2 separate regions of the Homo sapiens genome follow, and region 1 is linked to region 2. The links are contacts of gene promoters, found by promoter capture Hi-C in blood cells and fetal thymus (Javierre and others, 2016). All regions are on one chromosome and are shown on one strand. Each heading gives the region's core, a stretch centred on a gene start or on the middle of the fragment in contact. The rest is flanking DNA. Distances are from core to core; before and after follow the strand shown. Region 1 has its middle 74 kb from the start of LINC01422. Region 2 holds the start of MN1 (MN1 proto-oncogene, transcriptional regulator).

The links. Contacts are between HindIII fragments. The CHiCAGO score rates a contact against its expected background, and 5 or more counts as called.
Region 1: a fragment that was not itself captured here is called in contact with the fragment with the promoter of MN1 in region 2 in 1 of 17 cell types (M1 macrophages); the score reaches 5.7 in M1 macrophages.

The regions. Positions count from the first base shown.
Region 1 is chr22:26,826,443-26,831,834 of GRCh38, reverse strand. No RefSeq gene overlaps it. Among named protein-coding and RNA genes, the nearest start is that of LINC01422, 74 kb to the left of the region's middle. The HindIII fragment of the contact is 3,137 bases long and covers 204-3,340 here.
Region 2 is chr22:27,797,331-27,803,122 of GRCh38, reverse strand. MN1 (MN1 proto-oncogene, transcriptional regulator) reads left to right here and starts at 1,367. Exons shown (of 2, transcript NM_002430.3): 1 at 1,367-5,792. The coding sequence starts at 2,580. RefSeq lists enhancers at 3,301-3,846, 3,847-4,393. The HindIII fragment of the contact is 19,591 bases long and covers 1-5,792 here.

The sequences.
Region 1 (5,392 bases), core at 523-3,022, 970 kb after region 2:
CTCCCTACACCTACCACCTGGGCAAAGACCAGCAGGACACTGAGGCCCTCCAGAGCCCGGAATCAGAATCCAACAAACACGGGCTCAAATCCTGACCCTGCCGCTTTCTGGCCGGTTAACCTTGGGGAAGCCAATGCATCTGGATGAGCCTCATCTCATCACCTATAAAATGGGGAGAACGACAAAGTGCACATCATGAAGCTTCTATGAGATCCAAATGAAACAAAGCGGGTAAAGTGCTTGGCAGGTGGTCTTTTGATGAATCAGACCTTGGCAACTTTTAAGAGGCATGTCCCTGCTGATGTCATTCCTGATCTTCTGTCTTTCTAAGTATCACGATCTCGTTTTTTTCTGAGGCTTTCTAAGCCTTGTGTGGACACCTCTAGGGGTCCCTGAAATGCTTTAGTGTGTGGCTCTTTCAGTGGACCAAGTTGCAAGAGAGAAGGACTGGACAGTATTCATGTTTGTGTCCTCAGCATTCAGAGTGTGATAGGTAGACCCTCAGTGAATACTGAGTGAATGAATGAGTGGATGAATGTCAAAATCATCCTCAAATAAACCAGTCTGCCTGCCCCTCCATCTGAATAAAGGTTGATCTACTTTCCTGGTCATCTGTACAGCTAAACAGGGTGCAGGGTGACCTCTCCATGAAGCCGAGGCCAAGGTCACAGCAAATAGAAGGGGTGATAAGGGAGTCACCAGGCCTGGGTGGGGGCTGCAGGCCCCAGCTCATTGCAAATGCAGAGAGAATCCCAGTGGCAGCTCCTTCTCTGGCAGGGAGCACAGGAAAAGACAAGAAAAATGAAGCCACTGCAATCTCATTTTCTGAGGCCTGCAAGTCAGCCAGGAAATAGCTATTATTCCATCGCACTGTCGGTATTAAGTTATTTCCTTCACTAAATACGGGAATGTTCATGAATATCTATTGAGTCCCAGGTACAGACCCCTCCTGGCTCTGAGGCTCAGTCACTCTGACTTTACATTCCTGCAACAACACCCCTCAATCTTGCTCTGAAGTGAAAGACAATAGTATTTTAAATTGGTTAATAAATCTCTGGATTGATGCTTCTTGAAGGCCCGGGAACTTCCTCTCTATTACTCGAATAAAAGGGATCACATTTTAACCACTGCCAGGCCAGGAATTTGGGGGAGCAATTTGAGCCAGCTGCTCCTTCCTTTTCCTGGGGAAGGAGGGGGTTGAGGTTTCAGGATGTTGGGGCAAACAGACCCTCCTGGAAGCTGGGAAATACTCATTTTCTGGCCAATATGGGCCAATCGGACATCTCGGGTCACTTTGGTTTTGATGGCTTTACATTCAGCTAGTTTCCCTGGATTCAAATAAAAGAGACTCAGAAACAGAGCTTAAGGGGGGGAAGTGGAAGTGGGTGTCTGGTAACCTTTTAAAAAGCTCCCAGGCAAAGATAAGGATGGGTCCTGCCTGCGGGGCCACCACTTCCATGCCAGCCGCACTTAGATGGGTGTGGAGTGTCAATCACACTGGAAAATAACTCCCATGTGGGTTTGTACACCTCCTTCCTCTGTGAGCACAGGTAAACTTGGGCATGCCCCTCAGGATGCAGAAAGTTTTGAAATTAGCCAAGCATGGTGTCACACGCCTGTAGTCCCAGCTTCTTGGGAGGCTGAAGCAGGAGAATCGCTTGAACTCAGGAGGTGGAGGTTACAGTGAGCCGAGATTGCACCACTGCACTCCAGCCTGGGTGACAGAGCGAGACTCTGTCAAAAAAAAAAAAAAAAAAAAAAAAAAAAAGGCCCCGCTGATGGGAAATGTGAAGTCAGACAGAAATGCCTCCCCTTTGTAAGTTTCCTGCCACCTGCTTTATGTCCATTTCTCCATAATCCATCCTCGCACCCTAGAAGGTGGAGAATTCTGACAATTGTCCACAGGCAAGAAAATCCGTGGGTCAGAATCTCTCCTGGAAATTCTCTCCAGTATATTAAGCCAGGGTCCAGCTGCAAGCAGGATCTCAGAAAATAGTGGCAGAATTGGCTGCTGTACAACATCCCCGAATTACAGATGTGCAAACTGAGGCTCAGAAAGAGCACATGGCTTGCTCAGCATCTTGCAGGGAGCTGGCCTGTCCTTTACTCTGCCAAGACAGTTTCGGCACCCATCATGCCCAGGTGCTGACTCGGGTACTAAAGAAACCGAGATGAAGGACAAAAAGACATGGTGGCCACTTTGATGGAGCCCAACATCTCAGGAGGTGCCTGGGGGAGTCGGCTGGGGACAAAGTGAACAGAGAGAACAACAATTTCAGGTGTATCTAATCCCAGGGAAGGAAAGGAAGCAGGATGATGGGATCTGCAGAGTGATGGGATCTGCAGGGTGGGTTGTGGTGGGGCTACGGGTTAGTGGCCATCAAGAGCTGCTCCTCACTTTTCCTGCAGACCCTGGAAAGCTGAGGAGCTGACGCATGTCTCTGAGACCTGGTAAGGTTTTTGGGAGCAGGGATTATATCTGCCTTGAGACCCCAGCTCGCAGCAGACTTGGCTGGCAGCTGATGTTTCGTGTTTGGGGGAGGTGGGCGACTGGAGGGGTTTCGTTGTTATTAATAAGGCTCTGCTCAACATTTCCCTCACCCCTTTATCAGAACACCCCTCAAAACCCTGCTCTGGGTGTGGTGGATATCTCAAGCCAACAGTCTCCTAATTCCAAGGGACATTGTGACCTAAGCTAGGCCAGGCCTTGTCCCTTGCTCTATGCCCTGGCCTCTCTCTCTAACAGGTCCCTCTCACGTGCATGCCTTTGTGCACTCACTGCTTCCTCTTCTTGGACTGATTTCTCCTCCTCCCGTCACCCCTCTTGCCACCTCCCTCACCCTGTGAGCTCCCACTCAAATGTCAAGACTCAGATCAGGAGCGACCTCCTCCAGGAAGCCTTCCCTGACCTCCAGGGAGTGTGTGAGCCTCCTCTGGTCTCCCACCGCTGCCTGAGCTTCCCCAATTACAGCACTGACAGTGGATCACAATCATCCATTTCTATGTCTGTGTCTTACCCTCAGAATGGGACTGTCTCATATTCACCACCTCTGCCAGCACCTAGCATAAGACTCAACACAGAGGTGCTAGTAATACTTGTCAGTGAAACTAACTACTTCTGTTTATCCATTTCAGTAGACAGATTGAAAAAAATAAGCCCCAAGGATCTGCCCTTCCCTATCCCCATGCCCATTGCAATGTAACTTTGAAGCTCTGCCCATTGGAGGATGGAGACTTTTCATCGCCTCTAGAATCTGAGCTGCCCATATGATTTGCCTTGGGCAATAGAATGTGGCAGAAGTGACGTCAGGCCAGTTCTGCACCTAGGTCTTAACAAGCTTTCACTTTCTCTTGTAGAACCCTCCAAGCTCCCATGCAAAGCCCAGGCTAGCCTGCTGGGGGACACAAGACCTGGGGTCTAGTCACCTCCATCGCCCCTGCCAACAGCTAGTCAACCATAGAACATGCAAGTGAGGCCATCCTAGACCAGTCAGCTCTAGCCAACCCACCAGCTTGCATGAGCAGGCCCAGCTGGGATTAGGCAAGCCTGGCTCAGATCAGTAAAACCAACCAGCTGACCTATGAGCCAAAGAAAAAAATATATTGTTATATACTCTTGAGCTTACATTACTGTTTGTTATGCAGCATTAACTGTGCCAATACATAACTAATGCCTTCATTGAAGAGATCTTTCTCCCATGCATAGCACTGGGCATAGCACGTCGCCAATCCAGGTCCCTCCTGGAAACTGTCACCCAACCAAAGGAATCAGAATAGCAGGATCTCTGTGAGATAGGTCAAAGCACAAATCCTAAGGCTGTCTCTGATGGAGCACGTGGAAAGTGACCCCCAGCTGACCCAGTGACCTGTCATCACAGGTGAGGCAGAGGAGCCACGCCACAGGCGCTTCCAGAAAATCTCACAGTCTGGCAAAGGCCTTGCCCAGAATGCTGAATTCTATCTGGGGAATAAAGCCAGACACATCACTCTTTTGGACAAGCAATTTTTTTTTTTGCATAATTGACAATTCTTGGCATATTCTCCCCTTCTCTATGCACAACCTTCCTTTTATGTCACTCATGTACATACCACTCTGAGGTGACTTCCCTGAAAAGTGAACGCCAAAGAGACCTCTGGCTCCTTACCCTTAAATATTCTACTTGTTATAAATTCCCCAAGGAGTCTTCTTAGCTCCAAATATCAGGGGAATTGGAAGGGGGAGTAAGGGGGAAGAAAACACGTTCTCAGAGCAGCTCTTTGTACGTGAGATTCTTTGGTTTGTATTAAAATATTCTCATCTTCCCATAATTTATGGGCACTCCTGGAACTAAGAGGGTCCGCTTTGTCCCTGATCCTCCATTCCAGAAATAAAACTGTTAGTGTCAGAGCGAGTATCTCTGAGAGGGAGGGGGAATAGGACAGAAACTTTCAGAGCATCCAATTTGAGTGATCAGGGAAAGACTCTGCAGACTCACTTCCTGGCCCCACTTGCCAGGGAGTGAGACCCAGCACCAGGCACCTCCCCATCCATGATCTCATTTGATTTTCAGAACGGTCCTGCCAGGATAATATTCTAGTCATTATCAGGTTCCTTTCTGAGAAGAGGAACGTGAGAGTCCTAGGGATGAGATGCCTTCTTAAGAGAGCAGAGCTTGTTTAACATGGGTCTAGAGTTCAAATCCATGTGCAGATGACGCCCCAGTGCTCTCACCAGCCAAACATCCGGAGAAGGAGTGATCACAGAAGGCTACCTGGAAGTGGCAGGACTTAAACTGAGCCTCAGCGCTCAAGAGTCCCAGCTAGCTGTACTTTCTGGGGAAAGAAGTACAATCTATCTTATCCACTCAATTCCCTATAAGACCCTGAAGGGGGCAAAATTCCTGCTGCATCCAGCCCTTTTAAAAATGCATGGATCCCATTTTTCCTTAGATAAAAATCTCTGCTGCATTCTCCTGTGCCAGCTGAGTAAAATTTACTGTCCAGGGTGTGGCATTCAAGGATCTTGTTAATTTGTCTCATTCCACCTTGTTAGCTTTCCATCCCACTATGACCCCTACCTCCCACCCACACACACACACAGATTTATACTTTCAGATATTCCACGTGTTAGTCAAATAACACTTCACCTCTATATACGTAATTTCTCTTCTACATCATTCATGCTAATCCCACTACCTACAACACTCATCTCTGCCTAATGAACTCCTACTCAACCCTCAGAGCCCAAGTCAAACAGCCCTTCAGCTGGGAAGCTTTCCCTTCACTCCTTCATTGACATAGTTCATTGTACACATATCTGGTCAACTAGCACAGTACCAATTGACCCGTAGCAGCATGTTTGTCGTATAGACAGTGAACCTTAAAGATGGGAGCCCAAGTTTTTATCTCTGAA
Region 2 (5,792 bases), core at 118-2,617:
ACACTTTCTTTTGTGGGGGGGGAAAGGCATTTTCATACACCACGCTTAATTTTATTTAGATTTAATAGCGATATCAGGGGCACTTCAAAGAAAGTTCTTTTTTCGCCCTTCTCCTAAGAATGCGAATCTGCTAGCAAAATCGCCTCGTGCTATTTTATGGCAAGGAAAATTAAAGGCCTTCTCCCCCCTCCTTCCCTACACACACTTTAGGGAGGAACACACACACACACACACACGCATGCACAAACACACGCACGCAGGCGCGAGCACACGCACACAGGCGCACAGAATAAACACCTCTATCCTCCATCACCTCTAACTTCCAACTTCTAATTGCAAGATAGATTTCAGCCTCTGTGGGGATCAGGACGATCTAAACATTTTAACTAAGATTATTGGGATAAATATTTCATAAAGAGCAGGGCAGATATTAAATTACTCCTATTGATTTTAGTATCACAGCCCAATTCCATTCCTCGGCCTCTTCAGTTTAATTGATCTCTTAAGGAGGCCAACTTCGCACCCGCAGAGGGTCTGGGTCTTGGACCGGGTGGCCCAGGGCAAGGTGTGCGGCCCGGCGGGTGCGCCCTCTTCGTGCGTGTCTTCTCGGGGTTCCCAGCCGCCTCGCAAGTCGCTCCGGTTACTGGGCTCAACCGATGTGCTCCCCCATAAAGTGGCTGAGTGACTGTGACTCCTTGGAGCCCACGCCGGCCGGTGAGAACCGGGAACCCCAGGCAGTGGGGAAGGGGAACAATTGTGAACGCCCTAGTGACGGAGGAGTGAGCAAGCGCCCAGGTCTCTCGAGGAGAACCCTAACTTCGAGGTTCCCCGTCTGCTTTACCCTCCAAGAAAATCCCAGGGCCGGCTAACTTGGGCGCCGCTAGCGGAGAACGGAGTGTTCACCCCGGAGCCGAAGTGCAGTAGACACTTAGCGACTTTCCGTGGCGAGTCTAGGGTCTTTGCCTGGCGACCTCATTGTCTGAGCGCCCCGTACCGCTCACCGCCCACCTCCCCGCCCCCTGCCCACCCGGTGGGTCTCGCTCCAGTTGGGGGTGGGGAGTTGGGAACAGTGTGAATGGGAAGGGGGTGAACAAAGCCAAGCTCCCGCCATTCTCCTCCGCCTGCACCCTCTCCAGCTCGATGCGCCCGGAGGCCGGGGCGCGCCCCCAGCGCACTGACGCCGGACCCCGAGGAGAGGCGGGCGCAGGGGACCCCAGAGCTGGGGTAGTGCGGGTTCGTGGCGGGGGCTTCGGCAGCCAGGACCCCGGACCACCTTAAGAGCGAGCCCCGCCCCGAGCCCGGAACTTGGGCGGCGCTGATTGGTGCAAATGTAATGGCTGAAATTGATTGCTGAAATGCAAAACTTGTTGCTGCTTCTCCCGGCGCTGGGCGAGAGGCAGACACAGAGAGGGGAGCCGAGACCCTCGGAACGCCCCACGCAGAGCCCCCCCGCTAGTCGGGAGAGGGGTGCGCAGACCCCCCAGAGCTGCCCCCGCGCCCCCCTCCCCCCATTCCGGGCTCTGAGAGCGCAGCGGGAACGCCTTAGCCTGCTCGCCCGGCGTGGCCCCCCGACCCGCGTACGCCCCCCTCCCTCAGGTCCGAGAGGGACTCGCGAAGCACCTCAGCGCGGAGGCAGGGAACCGGAGCCTTGGAGCGACCCAACCCCTCGTCTCGCTGCCCTCCCGCGCCTGCAACGGTGCGCGGAGACTCCGGCGAACTCAGACACCCAACGGCGGAGAACAGAAGCGGCAGGCGGCGGACGTGGCCGCGAAGCTGCGCGCCGAACGCAGCGCACCCGCTGCCGAGCAGAGGAGCCGCGCCTTTCCCCGACCCTCGGCTCCAGCCCCCGGCGCCTGCCGCCTCGCAGCCCCTCTGCGTCCTCGGCTCGGGGGCCGGCACCGGCGATGCCGAGCGGAGCCTCCAGTCCTCCGACCCGCTGAAGAAGCAGCAGCCGCTCGCCCGGAGCCTACGGGGATTGTGCGAGCGGATCGTGCTCGGTGGAGGCTCGGGCTGCGGGGCGCGGGGACTCCGGGGGGCGGGGGGAGGGACCGCTCTGTCGGTGCCCGGCGCCAGCCGCGGCTTTGAAGGGTCTCCCTCCCCTGCCCTTAGCAGCTCTGCCACGGACTCCGGGAGGCTGCGGGCGGCGTCCTGAGGGCTCCCCAGCAGACCCAATCGGACTTGAGAAGGTGATCGCTCTGCTCTCCCAACCCCCTTCCCTCCCCATTCCCCCCACTTAACTTTTTGTCTCCGTTCATCCGCGGCTTCGTCCCCTCCCCGCAGACCCACCCGCGGCTGTGACAACCGCCCGGGGCATGGGCCCCCCAACACGGCTCCTAGAGGCCCCGCGGCCTCGCAAGATGTGAGAGGCCCTCCCCGGGCAGAATCGGAGCTTCAGGAGAGGAGCTAATACCCCGCCCCCCGTCCCTCACATCAGGCGGGGTGGAGGTGCGCGCTGAGCCCCCGCGGTGCTGAGCGTCCCGGAGCGCCCAATCCTGGGCTGGAACGAGTAGCTGGCCGGAGGCGCGCCGCGGAGAGCCGGCTGTCATGCCCTATTGATCCCCCTCTGCCCCCCGCCAAGTATGTTTGGGCTGGACCAATTCGAGCCCCAGGTCAACAGCAGGAACGCTGGCCAGGGCGAGAGGAACTTTAACGAGACCGGACTGAGCATGAACACCCACTTTAAGGCCCCGGCTTTCCACACTGGGGGGCCCCCTGGCCCTGTGGATCCTGCTATGAGCGCGCTGGGCGAACCCCCGATCTTGGGCATGAACATGGAGCCCTACGGCTTCCACGCGCGCGGCCACTCGGAGTTGCACGCAGGGGGGCTGCAAGCGCAGCCTGTGCACGGCTTCTTTGGCGGCCAGCAGCCTCACCACGGCCACCCGGGAAGTCATCATCCCCACCAGCATCACCCCCACTTTGGGGGCAACTTCGGTGGCCCGGACCCCGGGGCCTCGTGCCTGCACGGGGGTCGCCTGCTCGGCTACGGCGGCGCAGCCGGAGGCCTGGGCAGCCAGCCGCCCTTCGCCGAGGGCTATGAGCACATGGCGGAGAGCCAGGGGCCTGAGAGCTTCGGCCCGCAGCGACCGGGGAACCTCCCGGACTTCCACAGTTCAGGTGCCTCCAGCCACGCCGTGCCGGCCCCATGCCTGCCGCTGGACCAGAGCCCTAACCGAGCCGCCTCCTTCCACGGCCTGCCGTCCTCCAGCGGCTCCGATTCCCACAGTCTGGAGCCACGGAGGGTGACGAACCAAGGAGCCGTCGACTCGCTGGAATACAATTACCCGGGCGAGGCGCCCTCGGGACATTTTGACATGTTTTCGCCCTCTGACTCCGAAGGGCAGCTGCCTCATTATGCAGCGGGTCGCCAGGTTCCTGGGGGCGCTTTCCCGGGCGCCTCGGCCATGCCCAGAGCTGCGGGCATGGTGGGCTTGTCCAAAATGCACGCCCAGCCACCGCAGCAGCAGCCCCAGCAGCAGCAGCAGCCCCAGCAGCAGCAGCAGCAGCATGGTGTGTTCTTTGAGAGGTTCAGTGGGGCCAGAAAGATGCCTGTGGGTCTGGAGCCCTCAGTGGGCTCCAGGCACCCGTTAATGCAGCCTCCCCAGCAGGCCCCGCCACCCCCTCAGCAGCAGCCCCCGCAGCAGCCGCCACAGCAGCAGCCGCCGCCGCCACCCGGGCTTCTAGTCCGACAAAATTCGTGCCCGCCTGCGCTCCCTCGGCCCCAGCAGGGCGAGGCGGGCACGCCCAGCGGCGGCCTGCAGGACGGAGGCCCCATGCTGCCCAGCCAGCACGCGCAATTCGAGTATCCCATCCACCGGCTGGAGAACCGGAGCATGCACCCTTATTCCGAGCCTGTTTTCAGCATGCAGCATCCTCCTCCGCAGCAGGCGCCCAACCAGCGGCTGCAGCATTTCGACGCGCCCCCCTACATGAACGTGGCCAAGAGGCCGCGCTTCGACTTTCCGGGCAGCGCGGGAGTGGACCGCTGCGCTTCGTGGAACGGCAGCATGCACAACGGCGCTCTGGATAATCACCTCTCCCCTTCCGCCTACCCAGGCCTACCCGGCGAGTTCACACCGCCTGTGCCCGACAGCTTCCCTTCGGGGCCGCCCCTGCAGCATCCGGCCCCGGACCACCAGTCCCTGCAACAGCAGCAGCAGCAGCAGCAGCAGCAGCAACAGCAGCAGCAGCAGCAGCAACAGCAACAGCAACAGCAGCAGCAGCAGCAGCGCCAAAACGCGGCCCTCATGATTAAGCAGATGGCGTCGCGGAATCAGCAGCAGCGGCTGCGCCAGCCCAACCTGGCTCAGCTAGGCCACCCCGGGGACGTGGGCCAGGGCGGCCTGGTGCATGGCGGCCCGGTGGGCGGCTTGGCCCAGCCGAACTTTGAGCGCGAAGGCGGCAGCACGGGCGCCGGGCGTCTGGGCACCTTCGAGCAGCAGGCGCCGCACTTGGCGCAAGAGAGCGCGTGGTTCTCAGGTCCGCATCCGCCGCCCGGAGACCTGCTGCCCCGTAGGATGGGCGGCTCGGGTCTGCCCGCTGACTGTGGCCCGCACGACCCCAGCCTGGCGCCCCCTCCTCCGCCTGGTGGCTCGGGGGTGCTGTTCCGGGGCCCTCTGCAGGAGCCGATGAGGATGCCCGGAGAGGGCCACGTGCCCGCGCTGCCTTCACCGGGCCTGCAGTTCGGGGGCAGTCTGGGAGGCCTGGGTCAGCTGCAGTCGCCCGGGGCGGGCGTGGGGCTCCCCAGCGCTGCTTCGGAGCGCCGGCCCCCGCCGCCGGACTTTGCTACGTCTGCGCTCGGGGGCCAGCCGGGCTTTCCGTTTGGTGCAGCCGGCCGGCAGTCCACGCCGCACAGCGGTCCAGGCGTGAACTCGCCCCCCAGCGCGGGAGGGGGCGGTGGCAGCTCTGGTGGCGGCGGTGGCGGGGGTGCCTACCCGCCGCAGCCTGATTTCCAGCCCAGCCAGCGCACCTCGGCCAGTAAATTGGGCGCGCTCTCGCTGGGCTCCTTCAACAAGCCCAGCTCCAAGGACAACCTGTTCGGCCAGAGCTGCCTGGCTGCGCTCTCCACCGCTTGCCAGAACATGATCGCCAGCCTCGGGGCCCCCAACCTCAACGTGACCTTCAACAAGAAGAACCCGCCAGAGGGCAAGAGGAAACTGAGCCAGAACGAGACCGACGGCGCGGCAGTGGCCGGCAACCCGGGCTCGGATTACTTCCCAGGAGGGACTGCTCCTGGGGCCCCAGGACCCGGAGGCCCGTCCGGGACCAGTAGCAGCGGCTCCAAAGCCTCGGGGCCGCCCAACCCTCCAGCCCAGGGGGACGGCACCAGCCTCTCCCCCAACTACACCCTGGAATCCACGTCGGGGAATGACGGCAAGCCGGTCTCCGGGGGCGGCGGCCGGGGACGGGGTCGCAGAAAAAGGGACAGTGGTCACGTGAGCCCTGGCACCTTCTTTGACAAGTACTCGGCGGCTCCGGACAGCGGGGGCGCACCTGGGGTGAGCCCAGGGCAGCAGCAAGCGTCAGGCGCAGCCGTCGGGGGAAGCTCCGCAGGCGAGACGCGCGGGGCACCGACGCCCCACGAAAAGGCGCTCACGTCGCCATCCTGGGGGAAGGGGGCTGAGTTGCTCCTGGGGGATCAGCCGGACCTCATTGGGTCCCTGGACGGCGGGGCCAAGTCGGACAGTAGTTCGCCAAACGTGGGTGAGTTCGCCTCGGACGAGGTGAGCACGAGCTACGCCAATGAGGACGAGGTGTCGTCCAGCTCTGACAACCCCCAGGCACTAGTTAAA